Regions from separate parts of the Homo sapiens genome. Here region 2 is linked to region 1. The links are contacts of gene promoters, found by promoter capture Hi-C in blood cells and fetal thymus (Javierre and others, 2016). All regions are on one chromosome and are shown on one strand. Each heading gives the region's core, a stretch centred on a gene start or on the middle of the fragment in contact. The rest is flanking DNA. Distances are from core to core; before and after follow the strand shown.

Evidence for each region. The method cuts DNA at HindIII sites, captures the fragments that hold promoters and counts their contacts. A CHiCAGO score of 5 or more calls a contact.
Region 2: a contact is called between a fragment that was not itself captured here and the fragment with the promoter of OR4S1 in region 1, in 1 of 17 cell types (M2 macrophages). The highest score is 5.3, in M2 macrophages.

Annotation. Positions count from the first base shown.
Region 1 is chr11:48,303,388-48,308,791 of GRCh38, reverse strand. OR4S1 (olfactory receptor family 4 subfamily S member 1) reads right to left here and starts at 2,569. Exons shown (of 1, transcript NM_001004725.1): 1 at 1,640-2,569. The coding sequence starts at 2,569. The coding sequence ends at 1,640. The HindIII fragment of the contact is 12,544 bases long and covers 1-4,316 here.
Region 2 is chr11:49,518,514-49,523,917 of GRCh38, reverse strand. No RefSeq gene overlaps it. Among named protein-coding and RNA genes, the nearest start is that of FOLH1, 310 kb to the right of the region's middle. The HindIII fragment of the contact is 4,359 bases long and covers 223-4,581 here.

The sequences.
Region 1 (5,404 bases), core at 1,320-3,819:
CCACTGCGCCCGGCCACTTACCTTTAAACCTGAATAACCATTCATGCATGCTCCCACATTGTTCCAAGGAGTTTTATAAGGGGATTATTTATCCAACACAGATTAAGCTGGTGTATGAAAACTTCTGAGAATATTATGCTTTCAAGGTGTCAACTGCTATTTTATTGCTACTATTTTTTCATAATCAAGATCAACGTTTGCATTTGTGTTTGTTCAGCATCAGATGGTACTAATGAGTCTTCTTTACTACCACCACTCTCACCCAACTCTCATCACATTCCTGATGATTATATCTCATTCATGAAGTTGTTGAAAGGATCAAAAAAGTTAATACAATTAAAATATTTAGAAGAGTGTCTGCAGATTGGAAGAATTCAGTAAGGGTCAGCTTTTACCACACACTGAAATATAAACTCCATGAGAACAAAGAGTTTTGCCTGCTTTCTTTTGTGCTGTACTTCTAGCCCCAGGAATATCACCCAGCAAATGCTAAGTGTTCAATAAACATTTTTGGAGTAAATGAAATAATCAGATAGTTTGGTTACAAGGGCTTTGAGGGAAAGGATAGAGGGGTGAATAGGAAGAGAAAGGGGAATCGAAGATATTATGTTAAAACAGCTAGCAGCCACCATTGAACAACAGACTTTGATTTAGGTCTTTACAAAGTCTTATAGGTCCTCTCACAGCCTTCTGAAGCTGGTATTGTCAATATCTCCTTCTGTAAATGTGGAAATTGAGGCCCAATGAGGTTACATGACCCACGAATGTTTAAGAGATACCTAATCCGGCTCGTTTAATTGCATTCTGTACAAACTTGGCTCCCTCTAGCGGCAAAATGGAGCAAAGCAACAGGGGTTAAAGAGGGCAGCAGTCAGCTGTTCTGCTGGAGAGAGGAATCAGCACCACTGAAAGAAGTGCTGACAACTTGTTCTTCCTGGTTGTTCTCTTCATCATCCCAAGTCATCATCACCATCATTCCTGGTCTTTCAAAAGTTCTTGGTCATTCCTGCTTGGTGTCCATTTAGTCACACTTTATCAAGAGGTCCTGAGGAAAAGCTCTGAAAGCTGACTTAGGGACCTGTGTTCTAGTCCTCACCCTGCTCTGGAGTTAAAGTGTAACTTTTAGTAAATCCCTTGACCTCTCCACATTATTTATTTACTTATTTATTTATTTATCTGCCTGCTGAGAGCATGAAAGGGTAAGAGTAAAGTGGCTCTTTACTCTTAAAAGAAAAGAATGAATTCCATTGAGCACTGTGTTAGCCAACACAAAGGAATTATGTAGTGATTTTATTCATTTATCAATGAGATATCTGGACTTCCAAGACACTCCCTCATTCACAGGCCCTCACACGTTTCCTGAATGAGCTCTTAAATATCGCACTAAAAGCATCCTGGACTGTACTCTCCTTGAGGGAAAGATTATATCTTACTTTTATTTGTATTCTCACTCACTGTAAACATCCAATAAATATTTAATGAATAAAGGATTGAAAGAATATGTGGAATTATTATAACAACAAGAGCTAGGAGGATAATTGCCATTGCAAACATCAGACTGGAAATAAAAAGGCTGTGTTAGATGCTACAAGATGGAAAGTCTCCCAATTTCCTAGCTGGATTGAGATTCTCTGGAATGTCACTTCTCCCCTAAGCTCCTCTTGACCCTAAACAGCTTCCTCATGGCATTTTTCACATCGTTGTTCCTTAGTGTATAGATCAAAGGGTTCAGCAAAGGTGGCATCACAATGTTAAAGAGGATGATAAGTTTGTCAGCAGCCAGGGTGGTGGAGGGACGAATGTACATGAACATGGGGGGCATGAGAACCAAAAGGACAGTGATTACGTGTGAGCCACATGTGGAGACAGCCTTACGCCGGTCCTCAGATGACTGGCTTCTTAGGTTCAGTAAGATGATAACATAGGAAATGATAAGGATAAAAAAGGATGCTAAAGAAATCATACCGCTGTTGGCCACCACGATGAGACCTACCATGTAGGTGTCTGCACAGGCCAACTTGAGCAGGGGATGAACATCACAGAAGAAGTTGTCTATCTCATTGGGCCCACAAAAAGGCAGCTGAACCGTGAGGAGGGTCTGCAGGATGGAATGCAGGAAGCCAGCTAACCAGGAGGCCCCCGCTAGCAGGCCACACTTCCGGCAATCCATGATGGCTGTGTAGTGCAGGGGCCTACAGATGGCCACATAGCGGTCATAGGCCATGGCTGTAAGGAGGAAGATCTCAGTGCCACCAAAGAAGTGGGCAGAAAAGAGCTGGGTCATGCAGCCATTGAAGGAGATGATCTTATGCTCCACAAAAGTGTCAGCAATCATCTTGGGTATGGTAGTGGATGGATAACATATGTCAGCAAAAGACAACTGGCTCAGGAAGAAATACATGGGAGACTTCAGGGTCTTTCTAGCATTGATGGTGATGATGACCAGAAGGTTCCCCAGGACAGTGAGCACATGAAAGAGGAAGAATACCACAAAGCATGTATGCTGCATCTCTCTGCTCTCAAAAAGGCCAAATAAAACAAACTCAGTCACATTGTTCTTGGCACCCATGGATTATCTGCCCTGATGACCGACAAAGTGGCTGGCTGGCTCTGCAAAGACATAAATTATGAGACATAAGAAAGTTTTCTGAGATACCACCAAGATTATGGAGTAAGAAAGATACTAGCCTTCATCCCCATCACAAAAAATACATATATAATATATATAATATATTATTATATATATATATAAATTATATATTATATATAATAATATATATTATATATATATAATATATAATATATATTATAATATATATTATATATATAATATATAATTTATATTATATATAATAATATATATAAATCTATAATATATAAATATATATATCTTAAATATATAATATATAAATATGTATATCTTATATATATATCTCTAGAGCGAGAGAGAGACAGCTATCCACAAACCAAAATAGGTCTGCGAGGGTTCAAGGGCCCATTAAAGAATCTGCAGCAATACAGAGGAGCAAAAACATGGAGAATAGCCGCACACGAAGGATTTCTAGTGATATCTGCATACTTGAGATGCCAGGAGATGGTTAGGAACAAACAGGAAAGGTTGAGGCAATTAGTATCAGCCATGTGGTGGTAGTCATCAAGATCCCTGCTTTGCAGAGAACGCTAGCATTTATGCCACTGAGATAACCAAGAGCCATTCCCACCAGGAAACCCTAGAGAGGGAGACACAACTGTACTGCCTCCACCTGCAAGAAGCAGATGCTATTGAGCTACTTTGGAAAAGGAGCTGCCACCTCCCCAACACCATGCAAACCCCAAACTGCAGCTGCCCCTTGAGAGCTCACACTCAGACCCAGGGTCTGGGACTGCACTGCACCCACCCATGTATCAGACACTGGGCCATCACTAGAGCAAGCTCTGGGCCCTGGAGTCAAGGTCTCTCTGGGCATGCCCACACTTTGGGCACCAGTTCACCCTCCACAGAAAGTTAGTCCCTACCCCAACTCCAGAGCCATTGTAACTCTACATATATCTATGCTCCCATTCTTGGCTCCCTGGCTGCTTCAAAGCATTCACACCTCTAGCACTGTTACCTATGTGGTGGCAGGAGTGTCTTCACCCTAAGCACCAGTGTCATTATCATTCCAGATCCCAGAACCATAGTTCCTTCAGGTGTGCCCATGACCCAAGCCTCAGTTACATGGCTGCACAATAGGTGCCACCCAAAATACACCTGTGCCACCAACATCAAGAGGAAGCACACATACCAGAACCATGTCAAATGGTTCCCTAAGCCACAACTTCCCCAGTGGGAGAAAATTAAATAAGGAAGACCTTAGCAGCCACTACCAGCAACGAGCCTGAAAACCCTTGCTGTCACTGCAAACATCCAAGAATTTGGCCACTGAGGATCCCTCAAATCTGGGTCAACATTGACGTCAGCTAACAGGGCCACACAAAGACTATAAAGCCACATCCCACTGGTGCCAAAACCAATCCATCCCACCCACTCAGTCCATCCCATTATATGCTTGTGTCAGTCTGGGCCACAAGGATTGCAAAGCACCATCATGCCCCATAAGAGAAAATCTTTCCACACTGAAATTAGCCAATGAAATTTGCAAGAGATGACTACTCCACCAAATGTGCAGACATCAATAAGAGGGTAACAAGAAACAATGAAACACCAAGAAATCATACCACCAAAAGAACACAATAATTTCCAAGTTGCTGACCCCAAAGAAATGGAGGTATGTAAACAGGCTGAAAAATAATTCAACATAATTGCTTTTAAAGCTTCATGAAGTAAAGGAAAATACAGAGAAATCATTTTTAAAAAATCAGGAACATAGTAAAAAACCAAAATGAGAAATTTAACACAGATATTGAAAATACATTAAAAATCAAATAAAAAAGAGAGAAGACTTATAAATAAAATGAGAAATGAAAGAAGAGACATTACAACTCATACCACAGAAATATGAAGAATCACAAAAGACTACTATGAACAATTATAGACTTACAAATTGAATAACCCAAAAGAAACAGATAAATTCCTGGCCACATACAATCTAACAAGACTGAATTATGAAGAAATAGAATATATGACCAAACCAATAATGAACAAAGAGAATGAACAAATAATAAAAGTTTTCCATCAAAGAAAATCCCAGGAACGGATTACTACTAAACTCTACCAAACATTTAAAGAACTAATGCCAATCCTTCTCAAACTCTTCCAAAACAAAATGAAGAGGAGGGAATATTTCCAAACTCATTTTATGAGGACAACATTACCCTAATACCAAAGCCACCCTAGGAAACTAATAGAAAAGAAGACTACAGGCCAATATCCCTGATGAACATAGATGCAAAATTCCTTAATAAAATCCTAGCAAACCAAATTCAACAACACATTAAAAGGATAATCTGCTTTGATCAAGTGGGATTTATCTCTGAGATACAAGGATGGTTCAATATATGCAAATACTACATTAAGAGAATTGAGGACCAAAACTATATTATCATCTCAATGGATGAAGAAAAACTGACAAAATTCAACATCATTTTATGATAAAAACTCTCAACAAATTAATTACAGAAAGAATGTAATTCTCAACACAATAAAGACCATATGTGACAAGCCCACAACTAACATCAGATTCAATGGCAAAAAGTTGAAAGCTTTTCCTCTAAGATTGGGAATAAGACAAGAATTTCTACTCTCACCACTTCTATTCAACATCATACTGGAACTCTTACCCTAAGTAATTAAGCAATAAAATGAAGTACAAGTCATCAAAAGTAGAAAGGAAGAAATTAAATTTTCTCTGTTTACAGATGTGTGATACAGAAATCCTAAAGTCTCTCCCCCTAAAAAAGCTGT
Region 2 (5,404 bases), core at 1,153-3,652, 1.2 Mb before region 1:
ACTTTTTATCTCTAAATTATTCATTAATTTATATTCAACTCTGTCACATAGAGTTAACAAGACTTCCAAAAATTATGCTAATAAAGCCATTGCTTAGGAAGCTTCCTTATTATCACCACTTAAATTATAATCAAAATGAGCTATTTCAATGAAATTATCTCACAGTTTGCAAGTTTCTCTTCATTATACCCAGGAACCAAATGCATATGTCAAGGAAAAGCTTAGGTGAGACTTTCCTATTTAGCTTTTAGAAATGTTGACTTTCCAAGGACAAATTGGTATTATAGAATTGTTTAACAACTCTCAGATTATTTGCATCTATACAATGGAAGTGTGAAGCAGCTTCCATATGCAAAGAGATAATGATGGTTCTGTACCTACAGCTAGTTTGAAAATGTTCATTTCAATAAGCATGTCCTCTGTGACTGGGTGTGGTGTCTCACACCTGTAATCCCAGAACTTTGGGAGCCGAGGCGGGAGGATCATTTGAGGCCTGGAGTTCCAGACTAACCCAGGGAGCATAGTGAGATCCTGTTTCTATAAAACAAAACAAAAAATAAGTATGTTCTCTGAGTTGGGCTGTGATTGGTTGTGGCACTGGGGATGAGGGGAAAGGACTAAAAATAAAGGTAACATTTGAACCCTATCCAGGAAGAATGTATGCTTCGAATGAAGAGACTAATTTATTACATATTAAATAACTGATAATTTTTTCAAGAAAATTCACTAGGGAATGATAATATGTTGCTTTCATGATGTAAATGGATACCAATTCCTGAGTGATTTCTACTGCCAGGCACTATGAAAGAAAATTTTCATAGACTATTGTATTTAATCCTCACAACAGTTCTATAAAGTATTTATTATTTACTTTCATCTTATGAGTGAGGAAACCCAGATTCTGTCATGGTCATGGATATTTTGGGAATGAAAGGTATGGGCTTTCAGTTTGAGTGTATGAAGTTCTTGGCTTCCTCTCTTTCAATCTGGGATCCAGTGGGTCTTTGAAATATTATCGTCTAGAACAAATATGAAATTACTTCCACCTATCAAAATCATATAATGTCTTACAGTGCCTGCTATGTCTTATTCACTCTAAAATTGCCTTGTTGGATGATCAATGTATCAGTTAGGAGTGTTTGGGGATGCAGGTAAAGAAAACCTGTTAAACGATGACTTAAGTGACTTAAGATACATGGATTACAGCTCTCACATAACAAGCAGTCTGGCAGCAAGATGCTGCCAGTATGGTTAAAAGATTCAGTGAAAGCTGAGCCAACATTATATTGTTCTCTTTGCTGTTTCCCATGGTGACATGAATGCTGCCCCCACTTCAAGTATCATATTTTCACGGCAGTAAGAATGAGTAAAGGGATCAGTTCATCTCTGTGGGTCTCCAGGTAGCTAAAATCACAACAATAATAACCATAATAATAACTTCAATGCATTTGTTGCTGCCTGTTTGCCAGGTTGTGTAATATTTTTCTATGGTTTTTCACATAACTCTTATAATAAAATGAGATGGCACTGTTATTATTATCCTCATTTTACATATTATAAAATTGAGACACAGAAAAGTAATGTCATATAGTCAAGGTCCTATAATTAGTAATAATGAAAAGCAAGATTGCAGCTCTGTTCTTTCTGGCTCTAAATGTGGTGTTTTTAATCCTGTGCTATGCTGATTCTTACAATCAGTAGATAAGGGCTTGAATATATGGTTATGCATCTAACCTTTAGAGCCTATTTGAGATGTCTCCTTCTACATCAATCCCTTCATAACCCACCACACTTTCAAATTCCCTTTCCCCTCTTTTCATTTGCTATGTATTTGTCACATCTTTTACAGCACTGTATTCTTTATTCTATTAGTCATTTACCACATTTTCTTATTTCTCAGATTCAGTTCTAAGAACCTAGTAGGCAGGATCCATGTCCATTATTAAGCTCCAGCATGCCACAGGTGTTTAGTAAATGTGTGTTGAGAAGTCAGCTGAAACCCCTCTCCTCTGGTCCTGCTACTTGCTACCTAAACTCTCTCAGTGCCATTTTAAAAAGTATGCTGAAGCTGAGATTTCCTTTGGCTAAGTCCTATTGCTTGGCTTCTTTTTTGACTAGATATGCAAGTCATTAAATATAATATATGATTTTTGGAAATATAAATAGGGATACAGTAAGTCAATGACTGTTATACTCAGCTATTCTCACTAATAATCTATAAAGTAAAAAACACAGCCTTTTTTCCCCCTTCATGACTTCTCAACACACATTTACTAAACACCTGTGGCATGCTGGTGCTTAATAATGGACATGGATCCTGCCCACTAGCTTCTTAGAATTGAATCTGAGAATTCTATAAAACAATTAAGTAGTCTGTCTTTGTGGTATATGAAATATTTGTAATTTATAAGGTACTGATCCTTTTAGAATCAATGTAATAATAATTGTCCCTATCTCGTTGCACATGACATCTCCTTACTCTAGAGCTTTTCTTATATATTTAATATTCATCAGGTGTCTTCACAGTGCTGTCTCATCTGTTAATTATTTCCTTTACCCATAAAATATTTAATAACATATTCTGTGTATGTCACTGTATAAGACACTGGGAATATAAAAATATTTTAGTATAACTATCAAGAAGAATCATATTCAAGGCACATTAACAGGCAAAGGAAGGAGTTGATGTTCATTAGGGTGGTATGGAAGGCATTATAGAAATTATGTGAAGAACATCTTGAAGGAGGATAAGAATGTTATCAGATAGACAAGGAGGTAATAGGATGAAGGAAAAATTAGATATAAAGATGTTAAAAAATATGACACTTTGGGGAAATGTAAATAATTATATGGGTGCTAAGTATGAATGGCAACAAAGGAGTGTAAAAGCCAAGTTAACACAGTAAGTTTTCAATAAGTCATTGTACAACATACCAGTTCAAGGTGCTTTCAGTCCTTCTGCAGACAACAGTTCAGGGAAAATTAAGTAGCAGGAACCATGTCTAGATGCTATTGTTGTTTAGTGATCATAATGGATTCTACCATTTTCTTTTCTTTTCTTTTCTTTTTTTTTTTGAGGTGGAGTCTCGCTCTCACCCAGGCTGGAGTGCAGTGGCGCGATCTTGACTCACTGCAACCTCCCGCCTCCCAGGTTCAGGCAATTCTCCTGCCCAGAAACTAGCTGGGACCACAAGCGCACACCACCACACCCGGCTAATTTTTGTATTTGAAGTAGAGACGGGGTTTCACCATGTTGGTCAGGCTGGTCTTGAACAGCTGACCTCAAGTGATCCACCCACCTCTACCTCCCAAAGTGCTGGGATTACAGGTGTGAGCCTTACTCCCGGCCTTCCACTTCAATTTTTATCAGGTGAGACAATAAGACAGGGTGATGCTCAGATCAGTTTCACCACATACCATTATTCTGGACATGTGGTATATTAGTTATCTATTTTTGGTGAGTAGAATACCCCCAACACTTATCAGCTTAAATCAGCATTTTATTCATATTAATAGTTTATGAGAATCAGGGATCCTGGAGCAGATTTGTGAAGGGTTTGAACTCAAGGTCTCACACAAGGTGGCAGTCAAGCTGTCAGCTGGGGCTGCAATCATCTGGAGGGTTGACATGGGCTACAGAATGTGATTCAAATATCAATTGTATAGGTTTGTTTATAACGAGAGAGAGAGAGAGAGAGAGAGAGAGAGAATTTTCAATGTCTTTTATGTCCTATAGATTCCAAAGTCTCACCCTGTCTCTTCTGTTTTATTCTATCAGACACACAGACCTTCCATAATAGAATGTGGGAAGGGAATACACAAGGACATGAGTACTAGGAGGTGGGGATTAGTTGGGGGTATCTTACACGATTATTACCACAGTGTGCCCTCTGGCTGTAATGATATGCATACCTCCCACATGTGAAACACACACTCCTATATACATTTACAATTCCTTTTCAATAGAAGAGAGAAATGAGTGGCACATAGTAGTCTTGGTTTCTAGCAATTCTGAGATCCAACTGGGAATATGTAGCAAGTTCTTTGATTAAGTCTCAGTTTGCTTCTGCCCAGACGTCATAGCCCTTGGCTTTCCCTTCTGGATCTTATTTCCACTGAGCCACTCTTCCTTTTATAGGAGATGCAGGTAAGTAGTCCTTCCAGCCTATTTCCTGCTAGGAGAAATTTGGCAGGCCCAAAGGCCTTTCATTTTGTACTCCTTCTGTCCCTTTTCATACAAGCCGGCATTGTTTCTATTGATATATTATCTTAAAAACTTTTTAAATCTCTTGTGAATCTTCTTGCAGTTCATTCCATTAGGTGAAATCCACACCCACAGATTTCTCCGAAATAAGCCCTTCTTTACCTTGGATCTCTACAGATAACACTCCTAGAAGCCCAGTCTGTCTGGAAGGACTTTTACCTGACAGAATGGTGTATGTGGAAGTACCATCTTCAAATTATCTAAGATAAACATAATTTTTAAACGTGGTATTTACTGCATCTTTGGACCTTGTTTTCCTTGCTCTTTGTTCAGAGGCCATGTCTTAATTTTAAAATCTTTTGCTACCTGTGGAAGCTTAAAAATTTAAAACTATGAAATCTCAACTTTTTACACATATATTAGCCTTTCCTTTTATTTACTTCTCTCATTTCTCATTTACTATAAGTAGCAGGAAAAAAAGAACACACGCTCAACATTTCAATGAACACTCTTCTTAATATCATTTCAGCTTGTAACCACTTCCTAGTTTTCAAGTTTTTAGATATTTGTTATGATAGCATACCCACATTGCAGTAGCAGAATCAGTATTACTTATCTAGCCTGCATAAAGTATTACTCCAAAATTCAGTGATTAAACATTTAATATCTAACATAATTTCTAAATATTAGGAAACTGAGTAGTGTAGCTAGTGATTCTGGCTCAAGATCACTCAGAAGGTTGCAGCCAAATATATGCTGAAGCTGTAGTCATCCAGAAGGTTGACTGGGGCTGAAGGAGCCAATCCAAGTCACTTGCATGGCAGTTGGTGGGAGGCCTCAGCTCCCTGTGACACGGACCTCTCCATATGACTGCTCATACAATGGCAGTTGGCTTTTCCCAGAGTAAGTTATTTTAGAAAGGTCTCCAGAATCACAATCTGGCATTTCTTTGTTTCTACTTTATTCTATTGGACACACAGACCAGCCCTGATATATTTTTGGAGGCAACTAAGCAAAGGGATGGGCATCAGAAGGAAGATCTATGAGGTCCATCTTAGAGGCTGGCAACTATGCATGGGTATAGTCACAGTCTCTACCTTCAGTGCTTTCATATGTGAAAGCAGCAGTTTTATATCTGTTGTGGTAAACACAGGTAATTAATTCAGCAGGTTAATTCTGTTTGATTTCTATAAAATTTGG